Linked DNA regions of Homo sapiens: region 1 is linked to region 2. Evidence: promoter capture Hi-C in 16 types of primary human blood cells and fetal thymus (Javierre and others, 2016). All regions are on one chromosome and are shown on one strand. The core of a region is centred on a gene start or on the middle of the fragment in contact, and the rest is flanking DNA. Distances in the headings are between cores, read along the strand shown. Region 1 overlaps PPP1R12A-AS1 (PPP1R12A antisense RNA 1). Region 2 holds the start of ACTR6 (actin related protein 6).

The links. Contacts are between HindIII fragments. The CHiCAGO score rates a contact against its expected background, and 5 or more counts as called.
Region 1: a fragment that was not itself captured here is called in contact with the fragment with the promoter of ACTR6 in region 2 in 1 of 17 cell types (non-activated CD4 T cells); the score reaches 5.3 in non-activated CD4 T cells.

Annotation. Positions count from the first base shown.
Region 1 is chr12:79,936,769-79,943,087 of GRCh38, reverse strand. PPP1R12A-AS1 (PPP1R12A antisense RNA 1) reads right to left here. Exons shown (of 2, transcript NR_146535.1): 2 at 1,693-2,726. Among named protein-coding and RNA genes, the nearest start is that of PPP1R12A-AS1, 4.6 kb to the right of the region's middle. The HindIII fragment of the contact is 904 bases long and covers 3,230-4,133 here.
Region 2 is chr12:100,195,510-100,202,397 of GRCh38, reverse strand. It overlaps ACTR6 (actin related protein 6), which reads right to left and starts at 1,583. Exons shown (of 11, transcript NM_022496.5): 1 at 1,479-1,583. The coding sequence starts at 1,546. RefSeq lists enhancers at 1-475, 1,320-1,519, 1,493-1,787 and a silencer at 2,280-2,639. The HindIII fragment of the contact is 11,223 bases long and covers 2-6,888 here.

The DNA of each region.
Region 1 (6,319 bases), core at 2,432-4,931, about 20 Mb after region 2:
GGCATATATACACCATGGAATACTATGCAGCCATAAAAAAGGATGCAGGGACATGGATGAAGCTGGAAACCATCATTCTCAGCAAACTATCACAAGGACAGAAAACCAAACACCACATGTTCTCACTCATAGGTGGGAATTGAACAATAAGAACACTTGGACACAGGGCAGGGAACATCACACACTGGGGCCTGTTGGGGGTTGGGGGACTGGGGGAGGGATAGCATTAGGAGAAATACCTAATGTAAATGCTGAGTTGATGGGTGCAGCAAACCAACATGGCACATGTATACCTATGTAACAAACCTGCACGTTGTGCACGTGTACCCTAGAACTTAAAAGTATAATAAAAAAAAAGAAAGAAAACATGGATATGGAAGCCATGAATATAAATGACTCTTTATCAGGAGTACTTTTTTGTGAATTGGAGAACAAACATTAGAGTTGTATATAAGGTCAATGGAATATTTTTTGTGTGAGCTATTTATTGGTTTAATTTTAGTATTTCTCAACAGGGGAGTTATTAGCATTTTGGGAAGGGTACTTAGTTGTTGTTTGGAAAATTCCCACACATCACAAGTTATTTATTACTCACTTCCTCACTAAACGACAGTAGTGTTCCACAATCATTTTGATAATCAAAAACACCTCACCCACATGTCCAAATATCTCTGGAGTAATGGCATTGACTCTATTAGAGAATCACAACACAGTCTCCCCACAATCCATTCTTTTTCTCCCTCAATATTTCATTGTAAAAAATATCAAACAGCAAAGCTGAAAAAATAGTAACAGACACTTGGATACCTGTTACCTAAGTTCAGAAATTAAAATCTTGCCAAACTTGCACTGTCTACTTACATGCATTTGTATGTATTTATTTTTTATTTCATGAAATCATTTGAAAGGAAGTTGCAACATCATATTTAACATACTCATCTCCTTAAATTAAGGATACATTCCTACATAATCACATTATTACATCTTAGAACAGAAATAACAAAAATTCCTTAATATCATCTAAAACACAATCCATATTCAATTTTTCCAATAATCAATTACATACAACTTTTTTCCAAACCGGAACTTAATCAAAGTTTACAAGCTTAATTAGTCATTATGATTTTCAGTATCTTTTAATCTAGAACATTTTTATTTAAAATTTTTTATAACACTGACTTTTTAAAAGAAACCAGGCCAGTGCCCTAGAGATTATCCTACATTTCAGGTTTGTTTGATTAAGTATGTGTGGTATCATTTAATATGTTCTTCTATCTCCCATGTTTCTAGTAAAGTGATATTTGATCTAAAACACCTGGTTAAACTCAGGCTAAAATTTAGGTAATGCTTAGGCACATAATGGAGGTTGCTCTACTATTAATGCTGCTATGCTTGATCATGGAATTGAATCTTTGGCCAGTATATATTGTTGATTGCAGGGAATGAGTGTTTACATTGTTATAGTTTTAGCACTAGTACATACAGAGTACCAATAGGGTACTCATAAATACCGGCTTAATGAATGGTGAATAAATGAATGATTTAAACTGATGTTAAGTGATAGCTAACAAAACTGAGAGCTGGGTTTTGACACATATTTTCTAGAATCCTTGGTTCTAGATCTAGCTGAGGAAACAAATTGAGTGTTTATACACTCAATTACTGTTATAGTTTTTTTTTTTTTTTTTTTTTGAGACGTCTCACTCTGTCGCCAGGCTGGAGTGCAGTGGCACAATCTCGGCTCACTGCAACCTCCACCTCCCAGGTTCAAGCGATTCTCCTGCCTCTGCCTCCCAAGTAGCTGGGACACCAGGCACATGCCACCACGCCCAGCTAATTTTTGTATTTTTAGTAGAGACGGGGTTTCACCATTGTTGGCCAGGTTGGTCTCGATCTCTTTACTTCGCGATCCACCTGCCTCAGCCTCCCAAAGTGCTGGGATTACAGGCATGAGCCACCACGGCCAGCCACTGTTGTAGTTTTAAATCATATATTTTATAAGGAGCACATAATTTTCTGTTCACTTGAGTGGACCCCTTCCAAGGCCCTGAAGTTAATTATTTGTAATTTTAAATTCTTTTTCTTGAAGAAGAATCTCTAAACTGTAATAATATCAGGTTCCAGAAAACCTGGATACACCCTCAGCTCAGATCTTTCCTGGTTAAATCCGTCTCTTCTCTTCCCCCACCCTTCACTGCTAGTAACTTCAGAAATTGTTTTTCGCTCTCTTTAGCCCAATTTTTTTCTTCACTACATTTAGCGGTATCTGAATTTATTCATTTAAAATGTATTCATTTTCTGTCCCTCTTTACTAGAATGTAAGCTCATTGATGGCAGGTACTTCATTTGTTTCATTTGCTCCTGTGACCCCAGAACCCAGAATAATGATTCACAAAGAATAGGTGCCAATCAATACATTTTCAATGACTGACCTCGGATCCACCAAACTGCTACATTTCAGCCATGTTTGTGGCACAGCTATGTTTGGCTACTGGGAGTCCCAGGCTTATGTTCCAGCCTCCATGAAGCAGCCATTCATTTTGAGATCCTGTCACATTCTGGCTACTTCCAGAGATCTGTGAGCAAATCCCTGCTGTTCAAGAGACCAACAGACTTCTCTCTCATTCTTTTGAGCCTTGGTGTCACTTATTATTCTCAGTGAAATCCTTCTTTCCCATGGAAGCACCCAAAGATGGCTTGGGTGAACCCCTCTGCTTGGTTCCACCCTAAGTAAAAATAACATTCCATGGAGTTATGGTGAAAATTTTTGTAAAGTGAAAATAAAGGCAAATTTAGAAAACAGTGCTATTTTTATTGATTTATAATGCTATGCAAATAGAACTTAAATAAGTTTCTAGCAACCTCATATACTAATTCCAATCAGATCACTAGCCCTAAATTCTTATTAAATAGAAATTGGTGGGTGGACATTTCAAGTAGGAGGGAAAATGTTTTGAAAGCAACTTCTGCTTTCTTCCTTGCCACAAACCTGTCCTGAGGCAAGGAAGCAGAGTTGCTATCAGCTTAAATAAGGGAAGGAAAAGGCAAATACAAGAACACAAATAAAATCTCAAATTTTTTTCTCTCTCACATACATTATTCATTTAATCTTTAAGACAACCACATGAAGTTGATATTCCCACCTGTCAAAATTGAGCACGGTCAGCATGTTTTGGTTCTCATGAATACCTTGTTTTTGCACTCTGGTCTGTGAAGGAATTTTAAAGCTTTTCCTAGGATTTGATTTGAAGGACAATTGAATGGATCCCTCAACTAAATATTAGTGATCCAAGATAGAACTCATGCACCTAAACTTGCCTTCCAGATATTGATCTTGTAATTTATTCTTCTAATTTCAGTGCCATGGAGAATGACTCTTATTTCTGAAATTCCTTCAGCACACAGATATTTTCATACAAATTGGCCTTCCTGCCAATGCCTTGCCTTGACACCTTGAGTTGGGGGTGCCACTAAGGCCTATCCTATAACCTTCACTTAATTAATCGTAATTATTATTACACATACTAATTAAAGTCAGTCAGTTTCCTAAAGTGTAGGACATGTAGACTGGTGGTACATGAGGTAATGTTATAAGGTAGATGTAACATTAAAACAACAGTGAAGCACTTAGCACAATATTCTTTTTTCACTACCTTTTAATCTTTCCGATTATGCTAAACTGAAAAATCTTAGGTTGATGCTCACATGTCCAACCCTTACCAATATCCCTTTTTTAACAAATTGAGAGCACAGCTTGGGCTCAGACCCTTGACAGACAACCTAACTAATGTTTTGTTTTCATTGTATTTGCTTTAACAGTCTTCTTTATGTCAAGTGGAAACGTTTTTCACTTACCAAAGCAACATAATGTTGCTTTAAAATAAATTTGTCTTAAAAAGGTTAAAGAAAACATTAAGCAAATACTAGTATTTGCGGTTCTTGAATTTGGCAATAAAACTGATAAAGTTTGGGAAACATTAATTCATATGAAAGGGGCATGTGATGTTCTGTCACATGATACAGGTTGGGAGTCATGTGCAATGGAGGTGAGTTATCTCTTTAGCAGTATAACTGCACTTTGGATTGTTGCCAGACACTCATCTGAGTCCTAGTTTTGGGGAACAAAAGAAGCTTTATGAGCATATTAGCCAGTACTTGTACTGTGATAGGGTTAGTTTCTTGAAATGGAGTCAGATGTGGCAGAAAATTTACCCTAAAGTAAATTAGAAACTCACCTTGTAATCCAGAGGCAAGGCAAAGATTAGATGCTATGATCTAGAAATCAGGATTGATCTAGCAATGGAGTCTGAAGCAAGTTAGGGTGGTTCCATGTTGGTTCTGGTCAACTCCCTGGGTAGGACTAAATAAATTATGATGTGAATGGATTGTAAACTTTTCTTCAAGTTCTTTTTTTTTTTCTTTTTGAGACAGAGTCTTGCTCTGTCACCCAGGCTGGAATGCAGTGGCACAATCTTGGCTCACTGCAACCTCCGCCTTCTGGTTCAAGTAATTCTCATGTATTCTCGGGTTCAGCCTCCCGAGTAGCTGAGATTACAGGCACGTGCCACCACGCCCAGCTAATTTTTGTATTTTTAGTAGAGACGGGGGTTTTGCCATGTTGGCCAGGCTGGTCTCGAACTACTAACCTCAGGTGATCTGCCCACGTGGGCCTCCCAAAGCCCTGGGATTACAGGCATGAGCCACCGTGCCCAGCCTTTTCTTCAGGTTCTTAAATAAAACATTGGAAAGAAATTATTATGCAATGGAAGAGAGTTTGGCCCAGGTGTAGAATACAGGAGACAGAAACAAGGTCCTTGTTGACTGTTCTATTCTCAAGTGTATAAATGTAAATTAGTATCTCAGGTTTAAATTAGGGATAAAGAGAACATAGATATATCAAAGTATTTATTAATATCTTATGTACATTTTTAACAAAGAGATTATAATAGCAGAAACAAATCTAAGCTGTGCATGTCAGCATTTCAAATATGTTTATAATTTAAATTAAGTTGATCATAATTAGCAAGCAAATTAATGGTAAGGAATGTCAGTAGTGTGATTAAACTTTGAAAAAGATATACACAGATCTCATTCTGACAATCTTGTGCATGTAATAAATAAAACCCCCAGCCAGGTACAGTGGCTCAAGCCTGTAATCCCAACACTTTAAGAAGCCAAGGCAGAGGATCACTTGAGCCCAGGAGTTTGAGACCAGCCTGGACAACATAGGTAGACCCCATCTTTACAAAACTTAAAAAATAAATTAGCTAAGCCTGGTGGTGCACGCGCCTGTAGTCTCAGCTACTTGGGAGGCTGAGATCATGCCTCTGCACTGCAGCCTGAGCGATAGAGTGAGACCCTGTCTCAGAAACAAAAACCTCCAATATGATTGATTTGGTGCAGCCAAAAATATATTTTTATATATACATATATGCAAATTAGTAAGTATAGTTTTATTTGTACTTCTATTTTAAGGCTTAATTTGCTTTAAAGGAGCTAAAATGTATCCTCACATCCCAATCTGTTTAGAAGCCATTAGGAAGTGAAAATATTTGCATTTTTTCCATTTGTTCTGCTTAGACAAATATGTAATAAAAGCATGTGTGTGTGTGTGTGTGTCTTTTTTTTTTTTTTTTGGTAAAGATAGGGTCTAGCTCTGTCGCTCAGGTTGTAGTGCAGAGAGCTCACTGCAGCCTCGAACTCCTGGGCAGAGTTCGCCTCAGCCTCTCAAAGTGATAGGATTACAGGTGTGAGCCACTGTGCTGGGACTGTGTGTGTCAATAAAAAATTTTGCTTGTTCTAGAATTAACCCAAGGTCTTCAGTACCATTAATTCACTAACAACAATTTAAAAAAAATCCTCCCTAAAGACAAAGTAGGTGGCAGTTTCAGAGTACTTTCAATATTAACATAGAGCATCTTGACCCTTAGAGCCACGAAAGAAGAAAAACTAAATTCAGTGAAATTTGCACATGATAGCAGCCCTCCTTGGTTGTTTTTTCCCTGACAGCTTCTGGGAACTGAATGAACTTAATTATGTTTTATTAATAAACTATTATTAATTTTGCATCCTGAAATAAGTGCTTGAATCAGGAATAGCATACTTCCCACTAAATTCCTTTTGCCTGAATGAAATCTTCAGATTCCCATCTATACTGCAAGGGCACTTTAAGAGCTACCACATAGGCCATAACGTTCTTGGAAAACAGGATATGCTGTCAGTTGCCTAGGTAGAGACAGGAGCTGACAAGGCAATCCTCAAGTTCCTTTCTTTTATTCTGAGAGCTGTATTCTGTGGATAGGGATTTTGTATTTTAGTG
Region 2 (6,888 bases), core at 334-2,833:
TTGAATTTGTTATCAGTCTCAGGTTGTATTTTGGTGTATTTAGCCAATATGCTATTCCTGATTATTTAGCTTCCTTCCCATTTTTTGGCTGCCTGTATACGATGACTATGAATAATACAAAGCACTTCTAATTAATTCTCTAGGTAATAACAGAATTGCTGTGTCATGGCCCGGTGCGGTGGCTCACACCTGTAATCCCAGCACTTTAGGAGGCTGAAGCAGGCAGATCACGAGGTCAGGAATTCCAGACCAGCATGGCCAAAATGGTGAAACCCCCGTCTCTACTAAAAATACAAAACTTAGCCAGGCGTGGTGGTGCGCAACTGTAGTCCCAGCTACTTGGGAGGCTGAGGCATGAGAATGGCTTGAACCCGGGAGGCAGAGGTTGCAGCGAGCCGAGATCGTGCCACTGCACTCCAGCCTGGACAAGAGAGCCAGACTCCCTCTCCAAAAAAAAAAAAAAAAATTGCTTTGTCAGCTGGGTGTAGGGCTCACGCCCCTAATACCAGCACTTTGGGAGGCCAACGCGGGTAGACTGCTTGAGGCCAGGGGCTCGAGACCGGCCTGGCCAACATGATGAAACCCCGTCTCTAACAAAAATACAAAAAATTCGCTGGGAGTGGTGGTGCACGCCTATAATCCCAGCTACTCTGGAGGCTGAGGCGGGAGAATCACTTGAATTCAGGCTGCAGTGAGCTGAGATCGCACCACGGCACTCCAGCCTCGGTGACAATGATAATGATACACATTGCCAAAACGTTTTCCAGAAAGATTGTAACAATTTACATTCCTACTCAGTTTGATTTCCCTCTTTCATTTCTGTTTCAAAAGAAATGAAAAAGAAGGAAAGGAGGGAGGAAGGAAAGAATTTTTTTTAATGCTCTGTTAATTTGATAAAGGAAAGGCGTGTCTTTAGGTTTGCTTATTTATTCAAACATATATTTTATGACTATACATGTTATGAATGCCATTGTATTAACAGTACTTCTGTTTAATTGACCTTACCAACTAGGTCGGCCAGTAGGCCAAAGTCTTCAAAGCCTCTAGATCCTAAGACCGTGATTTTTAGACTTTTGGAGGGTCATAGAACCCTTTGAGAATCTAATGAAACCTATAATCTTGTACCCAGGAAAATCCGCATACACCCAAACACCGTGCCCATAGTTTCCAAAGGCTGATGAACTTTACGGACCCTTCTGTCAGGAACGCATCTCTATAAGCCTATTTTCTTTGGCTATTTCCTGTTACGAAATAAAACATATATCCCACTTCCGGGGCCTCGCAGCCCAAAACTAAAACCAAAATCAATTTCAATTCAAAGCATCACAATCACCCACCCAGCTCCAACCAGGGAATCCCTCTGGCTAAGTCAGGGCCGCGCGGGGGTGTCTGCAGTTCATTGATGTCCGGAGATGAAACGTAGCACATGAAACCACTAGGCGTATATATCTTGTCCCTCGGAGAAAGAAAGTACTTACGACACATTTTCATGGCTGTAACCGATTTTGGCGTTGTAAGCTCCATTATCCAGCACTAAGGTCGTCATCTCACCACCAACCACACCGCAGCCGTAGTTGTTTTCCCTTTCCGACCCCTCTGCTCGAGCTTTTTCCGGTACTCTATGGTTTGTTGGGCGGAGCGTTAGGACGCGCCTCTGGTCACCTTAGCAACGGAGGACGCCGGAAGTCGGAGATGCTAAGCAGCACCGAATGTTAGGGGCTGTGCTTCCAAACTTAACCTGTTTATGTGGTGGCGAGATTTGACTACTATGTGCTTTCTCGCTCATTTCGTATTTGTTTTTAACTACGCAGATTAATTCGCGCAAGTTTTTTCTAATCCTGTAGAGAACCGGCTGCGTGTGTGTGTGTGTGTGTGTGTGTGTGTGTGTCTTCCAATCGCATTCTTCAGACGGTGACATTCTTTGAAGAAAAAAGTGCAAAACTTGCTCTTGGACTCACATTCATACTCTCCTCTTCCCCAGCCCACTTGCTCTTCAGGACGAAGCTGAGTGAGTCTTTCTCATCCAAAAAAGGCTTTTGGGCCGGACGCGGTGGCTCACGCCTGTAATCCCAGCACTTTAGGAGACCAAGGCAAGCAGATCACTTGAGGTCAGGAGCTTGAGACCAGCCTGACCAACACGGCGAAACCCCGTCTCTATTAAAAATACAAAAAGTAGCCGGGCGAGGTGGCGGGCGCCTGTAATCCCAAGTACTCGGGAGGCTGAGGCGGGAGAATTGCTTGAACCGGGGAGGCGGAGGTTGCAGTGAGCCGAGATGGCTCCACTACACTCCAGCCTGGGCGACAGAGCGAGACTCCGGCAGGGCGGGGACTTGGCAGGTGCGGGAGGCAGGACCTGGCTTCCGGGGCGTCGCGGGGGCAACGGCCAGCGGGCGGGGGCAAGGGCCAGCGGGCTAGGACAACTGCCAACGGGCTTGGAGGGGGGCGTTCTACAAATTCCAGGCCACTTTGAGCGCCTGAGAGAGGAGCGGGGCGGCGGGAAGGGGGCACCGCGGGGGCAGGGAGCGCAGCAGCCGCAGCGCGAAGGCGCGGGGGCCGGGGAACAAACGGTTGGCGCGCAGGCAGCCATACCGGGGCCGGAACCCGGGCAGAGGAGGGCAGCGACGGCGATGGGGAGGCTGCAGAGCCCGGGGCGGGTACCGCGCGGGAACCAGCGCGACTGCGTGGCTACCGCAGCCGTCGGTTCGTGTTGGACGGGCGCCGCTGCTGCCTCTGCTACTTCAAGAACCCCCACGACCCGCTGCCCCTCGGCCACCTGGACATAGCAGAAGCCTGCTTCAGCTACCAGCGCGCCGACGAGGCGGCGGAGCAGCCTGCGCACTTCCAGGTGCGCAGCGCGGGAGCCGCCACGGTGCTTGAGGTGGGAACTCGCGCCCTGCAAGCGCCTGGGCCCTTCTGTCGGCGCTCCTTGCCTCCCCTGGGGGCCTGCCCCATCCACCCTCCTTTCTCCAAGGCCTCCTCGCACCCTGCCAACGTCGGCCTGCCTTTCCCCACTTCTCCACATCCCGTCCTCGTTCCTATCTCCTCCCCTCCACCTGGGCTTAGGCCCGGGTGGCTGGGGCTACCCAGCCCAGTCTCCTTCCTCAGACACTTTGACCCATTATCTCCCTCTGCTCCTTCCCTCTGACCCCTCTCTAGTGTCTTCTCACCCCCAGCATCCCGTGGATGTCCGGTGCAGCCCTCCCAAGCATTCATAACCGTAGGCTTCTGCCCCAGGGGCCTCCTTTAGAACTCTGCTAGGACCTTGGTACATCAGTTAACCGCTCTGCCCTTCAGCGTCCTCTAAAATGAGATAGCAGTAGTATCTATATCATGGGGTGTTGAGATTAAACTAATTATACTCTAAACTGCTCAGTAAATGTTAGTACATTTATTTTATTTTTATTTATTTGTTCTTTTTGCCATAGGATCTCGCTCTGTTGTGCAGACTGAAGTGCAGTGGTGTGATTTCAGCTAACTGCAGCCTCATGCCTGGGCTCAAGTGATCCTCCCACCTGAGCCTCCCACCTGAGCCTCCCAAGTATCCGGGACCACAGGTGCAGGCCCACGCCTGGCTAATTTAAAAAATGGTTTTTGTGTGTGTGTGTGTGTGTGTGTGTGTGTGTGTGTGTGTGTGTGTGTGTAGATGGGGGTCTCGCTATGTTGCTCAGGCTAGTCTCGAACTCCTGGGCTCAAACCATCCTCCCCACCCATCTTCCTGGGATTCCAGACGTGAGCCACAGTGCATTTAGCACTATAGACAAAAAGAGTCAGAAATGGCAGGGCCCTTAGAGATATTCCACTACATTTCCTCCGAGAGTGGGCAGGGATGCTCCAGCTAAGGTCACACAGCCAGTAAGTGGCAGACCCTCTTTTCTTGCTCCTTGTTTTGTCCAGGAGAGGTGGGAGGGGGTCACTTCAGCCAGTTAGGCCTTGCTCTTTGAGGCTCTTTTAATCCTCCAGCGAAGAGACATAATGGGAAAAATAATGCAGAAGCAGGAGAGTAGAGTGAGGAGTCCTGGTGCTGAGAGGCCTCCCCTTTCCTTGGGAGTCCTTAGCGGGCTAGACTCTGTCACCTCCGAGGGGTCCACCTGCTTCGAGCACATAGAGGGATCTGGGCCCAGGCCTGGAGCCCAGTATCCTTTCTCCAGGCTGTGCTCCCTGCCTGGCTCCTGTGAACCTCCACCTTCTCTCTCATTCCTCTTCCGCGCTGCAGGCTCGGCTTTCTCCAGGGCAGCAGGGTTGGGCTGGGATGTATGAAAGCACTCTCAAAGCTGGCCACGCGGAGAGCAGAGTAGGCAGGCTCTTGGCCTTATGAGCACAGGACTGTTCCTCAGACCCCCAGAGCTGCTAACAGCTGCAGCTGCCCCCGGAGATGTTCTCAGAGCTTTGTCGACTCAGCTTTTGCCAATTCAAGCAGGATCTGATTCCCATGTTCTCTCGGGCTCCTCTGTCCTGTCTGTAAGTGGGTGCAGACAGCCTGTTTCCCCGAAGGAAGCCAGCCAGGGTTGCAGTCCTACTCAGGCTTACTTTGCGCCTGTATAAACATGGGAATGACCCCGGTGGAAGACCTTTGCCAAAGGTAGAGGCTCTTCCTCAGTGTATACATGGACTGTCCCCATGTCAGGTGAATTTCCTGTAGGATATTTGTTAACAAAGAAAATAGAGCGTCATGTTTCAGATTTTTCTCAGATGACTGTAAAGCCCTATATGGGTTACAGGGCATATTGTCAGGAGCATGGCTTTAGACTTGGATGGGCTTGAACTTGAAGCAGGATCCTGCTGCTCACATGTACTGGACAAGTTATACCACGTCCCAGTTCCTCTTTGGTCTTCTCATTCCTCATCTTCAATGGGAATCTTACCTTCCTCATTAGTGGCTGTGAGGATTCTGGAGAATGTTATGGAAATGGCTGGCACATTTTCCATAGTGGTACGGAAAGTAGTAGGCACTACATGGCATATGAAACATCAAGCAGTGTTTTTGGCCAACTATGTAGTATATTCATATAATGGCATATTATGTGGTAGTAAACAAAGGAACTAGAGCTATAAGTGTCAATGTGGATTACTCTCACAAACATAAAATTGAGCAAGAAATAAGTTACAGACTGATTCTGTTCAGAATGATACCATTTATAGAAAGGTTAAGAAGATCATGTAAAATAGTGCTACAGATCACAAGGATATATACTGTGTCAGGAGGGGAAGAGATGCAAGGGGGTGATGAGCTCTGGTTTCTAGGTGGTGGTTGCCTCTGATGGGAAGAGGGGGGATGTGATTGGGAATGGCTGCCTTGGGGCTGGTGCCTTGTGGCTTCCACTGTTGTTTTGCAGTGTTTTATTTCTTGGACTGGGTGGTGGGTGCATCAGTGTTTGTTGTGTTATGCCATCCATCTTTTTTTTTTTTTTTTTTTTTGAGACAAGAGTTTTGCTCCTGTTGCCTAGACTGGAGCGCAATGGCGCGCTATCAGCTCACTGCAACCTCCGCCTCCTGGGTTCAAGTGATTCTCCTGCCTCAACCTCCCAAGTAAGTGGGATTACAGGCATGCGCCATCACGCCTGGCTAATGTTGTATCTTTAGTAGACACGGGGTTTCACCATGGTGATCAGGCTGGTCTCAAACTCCTGACCTCTGGTGATCCACCCGCCTCGGCCTCCCAAAGTGCTCAGATTACAGGCACGAGCCACTGTGCCTGGCCGCTATCCATCTTGTTGTAGGTTCAGAGTATTTCTTTTTTTTTTAAGAAAAGGAAATATTTTCCTTTGGGTTACTGACAATGGAGGAATATTTTGACATGTAAAATTAAATTGGTCACAGAGTAAGATAATACCTGAGGCCTCGAGTGTTGGCTATTTACAACAATGGAAATGGAAACAGGCAAGGCTTTCCAAAAGAAGGGATCAGGGTTTTAGAGTAGGGGTGTTTTTTGTTTATTTGTTTGTTTTGAGACATTGTTTCACTCTTGTTGCCCAGGCTGGAGTGCAATGGTGTGATCTCAGCTCACCACAACCTCCGCCTCCCAGGTTCAAGCAATTCTGTTGCCTCAGCCTCCCGAGTAGCTGGGATTACAGGTGTACGCCACCACGCCCAGTTAATTTTTGTATTTTTAGTAGAGACGGGGTTTCTCCATGTTGGTCAGGCTGGTCTCGAACTCCCAACCTCAGGTGATCCACCTGTCTTGGCCTCCCAAAGTGCTGAGATTACAGGCGTGAGCCACTGTGCCCAGCCAGGGGTGTGTTTTAAGAAAGATAAATTTCATTGTACCATTATTTCTTTTGAGCTCTAGAAGTAAAAACTTTATGGTGGTAAATAAGGAAATTACCGATTTATCTTCCTTTTCATCTTTCAGATCCAAGAACTGATTCCCATAAGCCTTAATGTTTCACTTCAGGGCTGTCCAGCCATAGAGGAGACCCTGATTTCTAAGGATTTTTAAGTTAGGTTTTAGCCCTGCTCAGACTTCAGCTAGTTGTGTATAATTTTACAAATACCATTTCTTTTCACAGAGGGTTAAAAAGTAAAGAAAAATCAGCAATGTTCTTATTATAGTATTATATATTTTTCTTATTTTAAAGCATCTTTGAGCCTTCTCTGGAGAAGCTGTGGTTTTGTTGGGCTTTTCCAAAATGTTTTACTATGTGAGTCTTAAAGCTGATACAAGAATTTCTTGGTAAACTCCTCTATTCCAAAACTTAGGGATCTGATCTGGTGCCTTATTTTACAGATGCGGTAATAGAGGCTGGAGAGGGTATGTAATTTTGCTGATGTCATGAAGCTAGACTCAGACCCTCTCTGAAAGTAGAGGCTCCAGGAACAGTGAGTGTCCAAAATGTGGAATATCTAATTGTATTGTCCGGTCTGACAAGTCTACTTTTTTTGACTTTGGAT